3 separate regions of the Homo sapiens genome follow, and all the other regions are linked to region 3. Evidence: promoter capture Hi-C in human tissues and cell types (Jung and others, 2019). All regions are on one chromosome and are shown on one strand. The core of a region is centred on a gene start or on the middle of the fragment in contact, and the rest is flanking DNA. Distances in the headings are between cores, read along the strand shown. Region 1 has its middle 26 kb from the start of RPN1. Region 2 has its middle 8.2 kb from the start of LINC02014. Region 3 holds the start of EFCAB12 (EF-hand calcium binding domain 12).

What was found. Contacts are between HindIII fragments. The study calls those that stand out against the background at their distance.
Region 1: a fragment that was not itself captured here is called in contact with the fragment with the promoter of EFCAB12 in region 3 in 1 of the 25 tissues and cell types used here (spleen).
Region 2: a contact is called between a fragment that was not itself captured here and the fragment with the promoter of EFCAB12 in region 3, in 2 of the 25 tissues and cell types used here (H1 embryonic stem cells and spleen).

Annotation. Positions count from the first base shown.
Region 1 is chr3:128,674,377-128,678,808 of GRCh38, forward strand. It overlaps the pseudogene POU5F1P6. Among named protein-coding and RNA genes, the nearest start is that of RPN1, 26 kb to the left of the region's middle. RefSeq lists an enhancer at 960-1,029. The HindIII fragment of the contact is 6,212 bases long and covers 1-4,432 here.
Region 2 is chr3:130,100,487-130,104,556 of GRCh38, forward strand. It overlaps the pseudogene FAM86HP. Among named protein-coding and RNA genes, the nearest start is that of LINC02014, 8.2 kb to the left of the region's middle. The HindIII fragment of the contact is 7,534 bases long and covers 1-4,070 here.
Region 3 is chr3:129,426,033-129,430,149 of GRCh38, forward strand. It overlaps EFCAB12 (EF-hand calcium binding domain 12), which reads right to left and starts at 2,604. Exons shown (of 9, transcript NM_207307.3): 1 at 2,408-2,604. The coding sequence starts at 2,456. RefSeq lists a silencer at 2,741-2,790. The HindIII fragment of the contact is 10,320 bases long and covers 1-4,117 here.

The DNA.
Region 1 (4,432 bases), core at 969-3,468, 750 kb before region 3:
ACAGGCGTGAGCCACCACGCCCGGCCTTATTTTATTTATTTTTTACTGTGTCCCAGGTTTCTTTAAGAACAAAGTGATACATGATGTAGGGATTAAAAGCAAAAGCATCATTGAACTTCACCTTCCCTCCAACCAGTTGTCCCAAAATCCCCTGCCCCCACCCTTTGTGTGCCCAATTCCTTCCTTAGTGAATGAGGAACTTAAGCCCAAAAGCCCTGGCACAAACTCCAGGTTCTCCTCCCCTAGCTTCTTCCCTTCCTCTGTCCCCCATTCCTAGAAGGGCAGGCACCTCAGTTTCAATTCATGGCAGGGCCAAGTGGCAACAGAGACGGGGTAAAGGCTTCCCCTCGCAGCATAGTGAAGTGGGGGCTCCCATAGCCTGGGGTATCAAAATGGGGCCCTGGGGCCGGAGGAAAGAACACTGGCCCCCTGATAAGGGAGACCCAGCAGCCTGAAAATCCTCTCGTAGTGCATAGTCATTGCTTCATCACTTACCCTTCTGGCGCCAGTTACAGAACCACACTGGGGCCACATCCTCTCCAGCCCAACCTGGAGATCTGCTGCAGTGTGGGTTTGTGGGCGCACTGGCTGATGTGGCTGATCTGCTGGGCAATGTGGCTAATCTGCTGTAGTGTGGGTTTCAGGCACTGCAGGAACAAGTTCTCCAGCTTGCCTCTCACTCGGTTCTTCTTCTTTTTTTTTTTTTTTTTTTTTTTGAGATGGAGTCTCGCTCTGTCGCCCAGGCTGGAGTGCAGTGGCGCGATCTCTGCTCACTGCAAGCTCCGCCTTCCGGGTTCAGGCAATTCTCCCGCCTCAGCCTCCTGAGTAGCTGGGACTACAGGTGCCCGTGACCACACCCGGCTAATTTTTTTTTGTATTTTTAGTAGAGACAGGGTTTCACTTTGTCAGCCAGGATGGTCTCGATCTCCTGACTTCGTGATCCTCCCGCCTCGGCCTCCCAAAGTGCTGGGATTACAGGTGTGAGCCACCGCGACTGGCCCGGGTTCTTGTTCTTTCGGCCTGCCTGAGGGTCTCTGCTTTGCATATCTCCTGAAGCTCTTCATTGTTGGCTGCTTCCTCCACCCACTTCTGCAGCAAGGGAGGCAGCTTACACATGTTCTTGAAACTGAGCTGCAGAGCCTCAAAGCAGCTGATGGTCATTTGGCTGAACACCTTCCCAAATAGAACCCCCCAGAGGCTGGGCATGGTGACTCACTTCTGTAATCCTAGCACTTTGGGAGGCCAAGGTGGGAAGTCAGAAGTTCAAGACCAGCCTGGCCTGTAACATGGAGAAACCCCGTCTCTACTAAAAATACAAAAATTAGCTGGGCATAGTGGCACATGCATGTAATCCCAGCTACTTGGGAGGCTGAGGCACGAGAATCGCTTGAACCCAGGAGGCAGAGTGAAACGCCTAACCTTGTTTTTACTCTAACTCGTTACTTTGAATTTTATCCTGCTTGTCTCTTTAATCACCTAGCCTTGCTTCTCATGTAAATAAGACTCTCTCTAGCTGGGAAAGCCAGACAAACTCCAATTGACCCCTTAATTTACAAGATACTAAGGGCTCCTTACCCAACCCCCTTCCGCAAGGAGTTAACCTGTGTAAGCAGATCCTCAGCATTTCAAAGTAGCCCAATTAACTGATAAGGTACTAGCACCAACAATGTATGAAGTTCCCAGGATTTTTCTCAAAGAGATAACAACATAAAGCCTTGAGTTCCTGTCCGGCATACCCCCTATATCTAATTATAATAAAGGTTTAAAGCCTTGCACCTGGTACCGTTGCTCTTCTTGTAACCATTTGTCTTTTAAATTGTTTATCTCTTTGTAACCATTTTTTTTTTATTCTTGCATGTTTTTACTTCTGTAGAATTATTGCATTTGAGTTCCCCTCCCCTTCCTAAACCTAGGTATAAAAGTTAATCAACCCCCTTCCTCGGGGCCAAGAGAATTTTGAGCGTTAGCCGTCTCTTTGGCCGCCGGCTTAATAAAGGACTCTTAAATCGTCTCAAAGTGTGGCGTTCTCTCTAACACCCCTGGGCACAACAAGAGGTTGTGGTGAGCGAAGGTCACGCCACTGCACTCCAGCCTGGGCAACAGAGTGAGACCCTGTCTCAAAAATAAATAAACAAATAAATAAACATTTAAAAAAAGAGCCCCCAGGGTGAGCCCCACACGGGCCTGGATATATCCCAGGGTGATCCTCTTCTGCTTCAGGAGCTTGGCAAATTACAGAGCTTTGATGTCCTGGGACTCGTTGAGGTTTTGCTCCAGCTTCTCCTTCTCTAGCTTCATGGCACCAGCTGGGGCAGTGCAAGGCTCCAGGGAGGCCCCTCACAGTTGCTCTCCACCCAGGCTCCTGCCTCGCCCTCAGGCTGAGAGGTCTTCAAGCCACCTTGGGGCACTAGCCCCACTGCAACCGGAGACCCAGAGTATACCATCTGCCCACGGAACTCATGCAGTGGGGGGCACGGGAGAAACCCCCACATCTCAGAGCCTGGCCCAACACCCGGCCCAATTCCTGCCTTGGAAGCTTAGCCAAGTCCAGCTCCCGCCCCGCTGACCCATTACCTCCACCACCTGGAAGGGGCAAGAAGGTGAAATCCAAAGCCAGGTGTCCCACCATGGGGAAGGAAGGCTCCCCAAGCCAGGGATCTGGTGAAATGAGGCAAAAAGTTTTTAAATTTTAAAAAAAGTTGTTTTAGAAATGAGGTCTTGCTATGTTGCCCAGGCTGGAGTGCAGTGGCTATTCACAGGCATGATCATGGCTCATTACAGCCTGGAACTCCTGGGCTCAAGCGATCCTCCTGCCTCAGCCTTCTGAGTAGCTGGGACTACAGGCATGTGCCACTGTGACCTTCTTAAGGCTTTTGAAATTTTAAAAAGAAAAAGAGTCTGCATTCCTGACAACACACCAATGCCCCATACAAGACTCAGATGTGCCTGCCCTTATTGCTACTTATTGCTTGAGACAGATTAACCCTTGTCTGTTTAAGCCACTATAGAAGGCTACATTGTTATTTGCAATGTAATTTGCATTGTTATTTGCACTATAGAAGGCTACATTGTTATTTGCAGCCACAGTCATAATTATAATTATATGTGATAAATCTTGGAGCTTATTCTACAACAGTACTACTTTATTTTGTAGGAGGGGCTGCATAGAATTCCTGTTAAACAAATGTGTCTTTTTTTTTTTTTTGAGATGTGGTGTCACTCTGTCACCCAGGTTGGAGTGCAGTAGTGCGATCTCCACTCACTGCAACCTCTGCCTCTGCAGCTCAAGTGATCCTCCTGCCTCAGCCTCCTGAGTAGCTGGGACTACAGGTGCCTGCCACCACGCCCAGCTCATTTTTGTATTTTTTGTAGAGACAGCGTTTCACCATGTTGCTCAGGCTTGATGTGTCATTTTTCAAAAATCAAGCCAGTCCCCTATTTATGAACAATTAGTTTGCTTCCATGCTTTTGCCATTCAAACAGCCCTCAACTGTACCTCTTTCTACGTTTGTCTGTGCACATGGGGGAATACATATGTAAGATAGTTTCCTTGGCCCTGAAGTGCTTAATCAAAGGATTGGTACAAAGGATTAATGTTACATTAACAGATATGCCAGCTTGCCTCCTCATGGAGTTGTAAAAATGTACACTCCCACTTGTAGGTATCACAGCCTGCTTTCCCCAGCCTTGCAAACAGTGTCCCATCACAAGTCATTCTGAATGCTAGTATAGGACACCAAATCTCTCTTTCCTCCTAACAACCTGGCTAGGCAGCCAGGACAGGGATTCCTATTTACTACACTCTGGTTTTATAGGTAAGTAAACAGATTCCCAAGGATAAGGAACCTACTTTTCCCAACCTCAACCTGAATTTCTGGGATTAATACCTTCTAAGAATAGATATGAATGTGTAGTGTTGTAGCAGTAGCAGTAGTATTTAATAGTAGTAGTAGTAGTGTAGTACCATCATCCCCATTCCCCATTCCTCAAGCTGGAAGCCATTCTTTTCTTCACTTCTGGTGGAGATGGGGACAAAAGCTTTGTTTCTTTTTTTTTTTTTTGAGACGGAGTCTCGCTCTGCCACCCACGTTGGAGTACAGTGGCAGGATCTCGGCTCACTGCAACCTCCACCTCCCGGGTTCAAGCAATTTTCCTGCCTCAGCCTCCAAATTAGCTGGGATTACAGGCCTGCAACACCATGCCCAGTTAATTTTTGTTTTGTTTTGTTTTGTTTTTTGAGACAGAGTCTGGCTCTGTCGCCCAGGCTGGAGTGGAGTAGCACGATCTCAGCTCACTGCAACCTCCATCCCCCTAGTTCAAGCGATTCTCCTGCCTCAGCCTCCTGAGTAACTGGGATTACAGGTATGTGCCACTAAGCACAGCTAATTTTTTTTTTTTTTTTTAGATGGAGTTTTACTCTTGTTGTCCAGGC
Region 2 (4,070 bases), core at 780-3,279, 670 kb after region 3:
TTGTGTTTTCAGTAGAGATGGGGTTTCACCGTGTTGGCCAGGCTGGTCTTGAACTTTTGACCTCAGGTGATCTGCTCACCTCAGCCTCCCAAAGCCTCAGCCTCTTACAGTGTTGGGATTACAGGCATGAGACACTGTGACCCGGGATGATTTTCAATCACGGTTTTTTGTTACGAGTGGAAAATGCATATTTATAAAAATGAAGTAGTACAGACATGAACGTGTAGCAATCTCTATAATCCTGCCATCCAAGGATGGCACCTGTTAACGTGCATATCAGGGATGTCCAATCTTTTGGCCTACCTGCGCTACATTGGAAGAAGAAGAATCGCCTTGGGCCACACATAAAATACACTAAAGCTAGCAATAGCTGATGAGCTAAAAGAAAAAAAAATCACAAAAAAACCTCATATTGTTTTAAGAAAGTTTACAGATTTGTGTTGGGCCACAGGTTGGACAAACCTGCTATATACATGTTCTAGGTTTTCCCCTATAGGTATACCTATGTGAAAATGATTATTTTGATACATTTTTTTTTGAGATGAAGTCTTGCTATGTTGCTCAAGGTGGCCACAAAGTCCTGGGCTTAAGCCATCCTCCCGCCTCAGCCTCCTGAGTAGTTGGAATATAGGTACTCATAACCACGTGTGGGTGATTATTATTAGTTTTTAAACAAAAATGGGGCTGGGCGCAGTAGCTCACGCCCGTATTCCTAACACTTTGGGAGGCTGAGGCAGCAGATCACTTGAGGTCAGGAGTTCAAGATCAGCCTGGCCAACATGGAGAAACCTCGAATCTACAAAAAATACAAAAATTAGCCAGGCGTGGTAGCACGCACCTGTAGTCCCAGCTACTCAGGAGGCTGAGATGGGAGGATAGCTTGAACCTGGGAGGTGGGAGGATGCAGTGGGCCGAGATGGCACCACTGCACTCCAGCCTGGGCAATACAAAGCCAGACTCTGTCTCAAAAAAAAAAAAAAAAAAAAAAAAAAAGGTTGGTGGGGGCTTATACTATATGTACTGCTTGGCACTGTTTTTTTTTCACTTAAAAGATATTGCAGGTTTTTTTTCACGTAAGTATCTGAAGAAAGACTTCCTTTTTTTTTTTTTTTTTTGCTTTTTTGCTTTTTTGAGACAGGGTCTTGCTTTGTTGCCCACGCTGGAGTGCAGTGGTGAGATCAGGGCTCACTGCAGCCTCCACCTCGTGGGCTCAAGCCATCCTCCCACCTCAGCTTCCCGAGTAGCTGGGACTACAGGCATGTCCAACCACATCTGGCTAGTTTCTGTATGTTTTGTGAAGATGGGGTCCCACTATGTGGCCCAGGTTGGTCTTGAACACCTGGGGTCAAGTAGTCCTCCTGCCTTAGCCTCCTAAAGTGCTGAGATGACAGGCCTGAGCCCCACGCCTGGCCAGCCTCCTGTGCGAGGTTGTGCGGGACTCTGTCATGGAACCCAGTATGTCTTCGCGTGCTGGCTTGTTTGTTGGCTCTGTAGTTAACGGGCTGCCCCACGTGGACAGGCACTGGGTCGTCCATGTCTCTGTGTGCAGGCAGAGGCTGCTGCGGGTGCATCTTTGCACATGGCTGCCAGGAGGGGCTGTGCTCAGGGGGAGCTGGGGCAGAGTCTGGTGGCAATGGGGGGCTTGGGTGTAGTGTGGAGGCACTAGAGCCAGGTGGCCGGGCTGCAGTCTGCGGGAGCTCGGGGGTCTCTTGGCCTCTGTGTGTCCTAGTGTTTTTGTCGGTGAGATGGGACAATGACAGAACACCCTCACAGGTGCTGGGGGCTGACCAATGTCAGGTCTCAGGACAGTGGCTGGCCCACTACGGGGCCAGTTGCCCTTCTCTATAGTCACCCTGCTCGTCTTCCATCAACTGGGTGCTCAGGACAGTGGCGTGGTGGATCCGCCTGTACAGCCTGTGCTCCAGCATCCTGCAGGCCACAGCTGTGTCCAGCCCTGACCCCGACTGCCCCTCCCACCACCTCCATTTTATAGATGAGGAAACCGAGGCCCAAGGGCTTAGGGAAACCTGCTCTGAGGCACATAGTAGGGCTGCTGGGCTCAGACCCTCCCGCCCTGTGCTGAGCTGCCCTCCTCCTGCCGCAAGCCCCCCACGCCCCAAGCCCACCCTGCTCACCGGCCTCTGCCCGAGTTCCCCGCATGGTGTGGGAGTGTGGGGCATCCTAGCTTTTTGCTGGCACCCAGTTCTTTCACTTCCACTGGAGTCCTGCAGGGACAGCTCGGGGACCATGCAGGCCCGGGTGGGCGTGGGGGCTCACCTAGCTCGGTGGTGAACACCTGGCACGTCTCTGGGTTGCGGACGGTAAAGGCCATGTAGACCTCAGGAGCCCGCTGGTGCTCCCAGCAGGCAGCCAGCCTCCGCAGGACCCCGACCAGGGACACGATGGCTTCTGGGCAATACAGCACGTCTACGGTGAAAGCTTCAGGTTACTGAAAGGGACAAGTGGAAAGTTCCAGTTCATGCTGACCTCAGCAGCAGGGTGAGGCCAGAGAGGCAGCGTTCATATGAGACTATTAGATGCCATTTGACCATTTGGGCCATTAGATGGAAGGGCAATTACTTGGGTGAAAAAGGAGAACCCTTAGTAGAGAAAGCTGCAAAAGACCGAAGCAAAAGAAAAAAATCTCCAGACTCACTGGTGTTCCTTAAAAAACCAGCTCTGGTTCTGGGCCTATCTAGAGGGCTTTGAATGGCAGAAAGCCTGACCCTACCGTGAACTTCGTGTTTCAGGTGTCTGCCGATTGGTCTGCTGGCTTGCAGGGGTGGGCCTCTGTCCCTGGCCACCGCTGGACCTGTGGGTTTCAGGGCTGGGACCCAGGACCACAGGCAGAGCTCTGTTCCACCAGAGAGGGGACTGAGTGTGCTGGCAGGGGTGAGGGGTTTTTGGTGGCCCAGCCAAACACCACCTTCTCCCAAGGGCCCTGTCCTCATCCCAGAAGTGGTTGTTTTCCTCCTGTGGTCTCTGAAGGACACAGGGCATGGCTCTGGAACAGAGCCGTGTGGTGACGACTGTAACGGGAGTATGCCTGTCTCCAACAAGAGGGCTGTGGCTTGAAGGTCACCTTAAGAGGCACCCCTGTCCTTTGATGTCCCCCTGGAGGCCCGGAGTAACTCTTCTGGAAGCCCCATCATGTCCATGCCCGACAGCATCCACTGTTCCCTTTTCCCAGAGCCAAGAGCTGGGTAGAGCTGCAAGGACACCGCCTGCACAGGATGCCCGGGGCTGGGCATTACCTGCTGTAATGACAACATCTGGCTGGAAGGCAGAGAGCTGATGGACCGTCGCTACATCCCAGTCCAGCTGGGCCACTGTCACCCTGGGGCTATCTAAGTTGGCAGTGATGTCTGCCTCTAATGAGAGGCCATTGAGAAGGACATTCCCTCGGAGCTGCTCGAGGACCCGGCTGTGACAGTCGCTGAAGATGTATGTCCGGGGGTGGCACATCTTGCAGATGGACAGGCCTGTAAGGCCGGCGCCACTGCCAAGCTCTAGGACAGTCCTGGCGGGAGGAAAGGGGACCGTGTCTTCGACTGCACCAGGGTAAGCCTGCCTCGGTGCCCTGCCCTGTGCCCCGAGGTCACCTGTTAGTGAAGGCTGCCAGGTTCTCAATGACCCATTCTGCAAGGTAGATGGCGGCTGCCCTGTGCCCCGAGGTCACCTGTTAGTGAAGGCTGCCAGGTTCTTGATGGCCCATTCTGCAAGGTAGCGGGCAGCGTCCCATGTGACCAGGCCTGTGGTACCGTGGGAGATGATGGCTGTGCTCGGAGAGTGTGACCGAGCCTTCCGAGGGCTGTACCAAGAGAGGGTGAGACAGTAAGTCCAGCAATCAGAAAACAAGTGGCTTAGAAGACAAGTAGCCATCCGCCACATGGCTGAATAAACCATGACAGGACCAATCGCCACTCAGCAATGAGAAGCAGCTAACTGTTGACATACCAACAGCTTGCACGGGCCTCAAGGGTGTCACGCGGCATGAAAGACACTCATCTCAGGCCACACAGGATTCCATTCATCGAACATTCCTGAGACAACGGAATTCTGGCGATGGA
Region 3 (4,117 bases), core at 1,354-3,853:
ATAGGTGTCTGGAAACAATTCTACTCTTTCTTGAAATTCTCCCTGCTCTTGGCTTGATTCAATCTCTTGCTATGTCCAATTCTACCTCTCCGGCTATTGTTTTTGGGCCCCTCTTTTCCTGATTACTCCTTAAAGGTTGTTGCTTCCAGGCTTATACCCAGGGTCTCTTCTCTTTTTAAATAATCCCTTCCATTCTCATGTTTCTATGACCTTCTGTATGCTGGGGACATCCATACCAATATTTTTGACTTGGAATTAGCTCCAAGTTTATACCTCCAGTTGTTCCTAAAACATCTCCACTTGGATGGCTTACAGGGTTTTTTTTTGTTTTTTTTTTTTTTTTTTTTTTTGAGACGGACTCTTGCTCTGTTTCCCAGGCTAAAGTGCAGTGGCACGATCTCGGCTCTCTGCAAGCTCTGCCTCCCGGGTTCACGCCATTCTCCTGCCTCAGCCTCCCGAGTACCTGGGACTACAGGTGTCTGCCACCACGACCGGCTAATTTTTTGTATTTTTAGTAGAGATGGGGTTTCACTGTGTTAGCCAGGATGGTCTCGATCTCCTGACCTGGTGATCCGCCCACCTCAGCCTCCCAAAGTGCTAGGATTACAGGCGTGAGCCACGGCGCCCGGCCGGGGATCTTTTTTTATTATTTATTTTTAATTGAGACAGGGTCTTGCTCTGTTCCCCAAGCTGGAGTACAGTGGCTCAATCATAGCTCACTGCAGCCTTGAACTCCTGGGCTCAAATGATCCTCCCAGCTCAGCCTCCTGAGTAGCTGGGACTACAGGTGCATGCCATTAAGCCTAGCTAACCTTTTTTTTTTTTTTTTTTTTGAGATGGTGTCTTGCTCTGTCACCCAGGCTGGAGTGCAATGGCATGATCTTGGCTCACTGCAAGCTCCACCTCCCTGGTTCATGCCATTCTCCTGCCTCAGCCTCCTGAGTAGCTGTGACTACAGGCGCCTGCCACCATGCCCGGCTAATTTTTTGTATTTTTAGTAGAGACGGGGTTTCATTGTGTTAGCCAGGATGGTCTTGATCTCCTGACCTCGTGATCCACCCACCTCAGCCTCCTAAAGTGCTGGGATTACAGGCGTGAGCCACCCCACCAGGCCTGGCTAACTTTAAAAAACAATTTTGTAGAGATGGGATCTCACTATGTTGCCCAGGCTATTCTCAAACTCCTGGGCTCAAGCAATCCTCCTGCCTCAGCTTCCCATAGTGCTGGGATTACAGGCGTGAGATACTGTGCCCAGCTACTGACAAGGATCTTAAACTCAACCAACCAAGACTGGATTTGTCTTTGTGCCCCTTCCCCCACTAACTGGGTCCTCTGAGTACGTTCTCTTATCTCTGTGGAAGACATCTCCATCTACCAGGTCCCCCAGCTGCCAACTTGAGAACCATCTTTATTTGCCTCTTCTGTGTTTCCTGACCAACCAGCCCCCAAGTCCCGTAGTTCCCTCTAGCCTGGGCCTTCTCCCTCACCTCCCAGCATCTTTAGCTTGGGCATTTGACCAGAGCCCTGACCTGTGTGCCTGGGAAAGGTGGCCAGCCTCTCCAGCTCTCCCTGTTTCTCCACTGGGCATTAATGTGTTCAGTGCTGGAGAAGCGGCATGGAGAAGACCTTCAGTCTTCAAGCTTTATAGCCCCCAGCTCTCATCTCCCCACACCAACATTCTGAGTCTGCCAACTCAGTCTCAGGTCTTTTCTGACTGCTCCCAATCCAGTCCTGCCACTCCCAGTGGCCTCTCCATCTCCTGGCTTGCAGTATCTTTTATGATCTTGTCCCTTCTGACCTCTCTCACCTCATTTCCAGAGACACCAGACCTCTTGGGTCATGCTGTTTCCTTGCCCGAAATGCTTTTCCTTCCCCTTTTGGCTTGGAGAACTCCTTTTTATCCTTTAAGCTCCAGTGTAAAGATCTTTTCCAAAAGCTTGGAACTGTTCCTCCCCATCCCATACCCTCAGCACACCTTTTACTCCTGGGTGTCATCCCTGGGCCCGGCATTTACCCCTTCTTATTCTGTAATTATCCATTTATCTCTGTCCTTTACCCGTGAAGCTGCATTGCTTTGCCAAGAACTTGGTCCCCAGCACATTACTGCCAAAACCTTGAAGACTGACGTCTTCTCCATGCCTCTCCTCCAGTACTGAATACATTAATGTCCTGCAGAGAAACAGGGCGAGCTGGAGGGCTCCCGTCACATGGGTCGGGCCTCTGGTTCCTCCAACTAGGCTCAGATAGAAATCTCAGAAATGTACATGACCTGCCCCCGACTCCATGGCAACCCTTCACCCAGAGGGGGTCGGCACAATATCTGTGGCTGAGTTTTTGCCCTCACCCCACTTTCACGCGTCCTTAGGGCGCTGAGCGCTCCCTGCAGACGCTTCTTCCCGGGGCTTACCGAGCAGCGACAAGAACAGACTGTGGTACGCTTCATAGTCGTCGTCCATGGTCGTGGTGCTGGGAGGGGGTGCTGAAGGGCGTGTGTGAATGTGTGTCGATGTGGGCTTGCTTGCGTAGGGGTACCGGGGTATCAGATAAACCGTAACTCCAAGTCGTGCGAAAGGCGCTCAGCTCAGACTGCAGAAGCAACCTGTTGCCGTGGCTACGGACGCCCCGCGCCAATTGGCTGAGCGCTGTCACGTGTTAAGAGCGAGCCCGCCCTGCCGAGCGCCTGCTGGCCCCACCTCGTTTTCGTCCAATTCTGGGAGGGGCAGCGAGCAAATCCACGCCCCGCCCAGTTCTGGGCTTGGTGAAAGGCGGGATTTCTTTGTTCGGCCCAGTAGTCCCTGAATCCAGTGTAGAAAGTCTCCGGTTTTCCCGTGAAATGTGGGATCTTCCGCAGGTCTCCATATCTCTAGGCCTCAGTTTTCTCATAGGAAAAATAGGCCCTGCCTCCTCCAGAGGGTTAGGAAGAACCAAAGTGAGCTGTGGCCAGATAGAGGTGTTGGGTATGTTCTGCCCCGCTTATGGCAGGGTGCCATGGTTTGGAGTTACAGAACCTGAGGACCAGAGAATAATAATAAACCCTTGAAATGTGCATCAACTGATAAGCAAAATGAGGTATATCCATAGGATGGCCATAAGAAGGAATGAAGTACATGCTACAATATGGATAAACCTTCAAAACAGTATGCTAAGCAAGAAGCTAGACACAAAAGGCCACGTGCTGTATGATTCCATTTATGTGAAATGTTCAGCATAGACGAACCCACAGACACGGAAAGTAGATGAATGGTTGCTAGGGGATGGGGTGAGTAATTGAAGTGACTGCTAACAGGTGGAGAGATTCTTTTTGGAGTGGAAAAAAGAAATGGAAACTTCTGGAATTAGTGATGATGGCTGCACACTGTAAATGTACTAAACCACTGAACTGTACACTTTAAAATGGTTAAATGGTGGCTTTTAGCTCAATTTTTAAAAAGTTAAAGAGAAACACCTAAGCCCTTATTCCTTTGCTGAGACAAGCTATCTTTGTGACGCTTGCAAACAGATTGTTGCCATGGGCCACATTCACACAGCACTCTTGCAAGCCAGGTACCATTTTAGCACTACATGTCTGAACTTCATAATTACCATCATTGTGTGAGGTAGACACCACTATCCCATTTTTAAAAGACAAGTTAACAGGTACAGAGGTCAGGCAACCTCACCTGCAAGAAACAGGAAAAGCCAGGCCTAGAGCCTGAGCAACCTGGCTGTGTCCTGAGCTCCCCTGGTGCAGAGCTCGCCTCCTGCATTCACACGGGCCCACACTCCCCATGGAGATGCTGGGGGAAGGTATGTGACCACCAGCCCTACCACAAAGCCACACCTGATGCCCTGAGCTTGGTGAGCTCGCCCCACCCTCCAGGCCCAGCTGGGCCCAAGGTTTCAGAGGCCCCTCTCCACCCTCTTTGGGTGTCTTGTCCCTACTCCTTACCGCTTTTGTTCCCTTCCATTATTAGGTGCCCTTCTTTCTCTCTGTGAGGGTCTGTACAGAACTTGTTTATCTTTGTGCCCCTCCCCACCACAGGGCTTTACACTTTGTGAATGCTACTTGGATGTTTGTTAAATGAAAATGTGATGGTAAACTATAAAGTGGGTTTGCCTTGGGGAGAGGGAGGTGTGG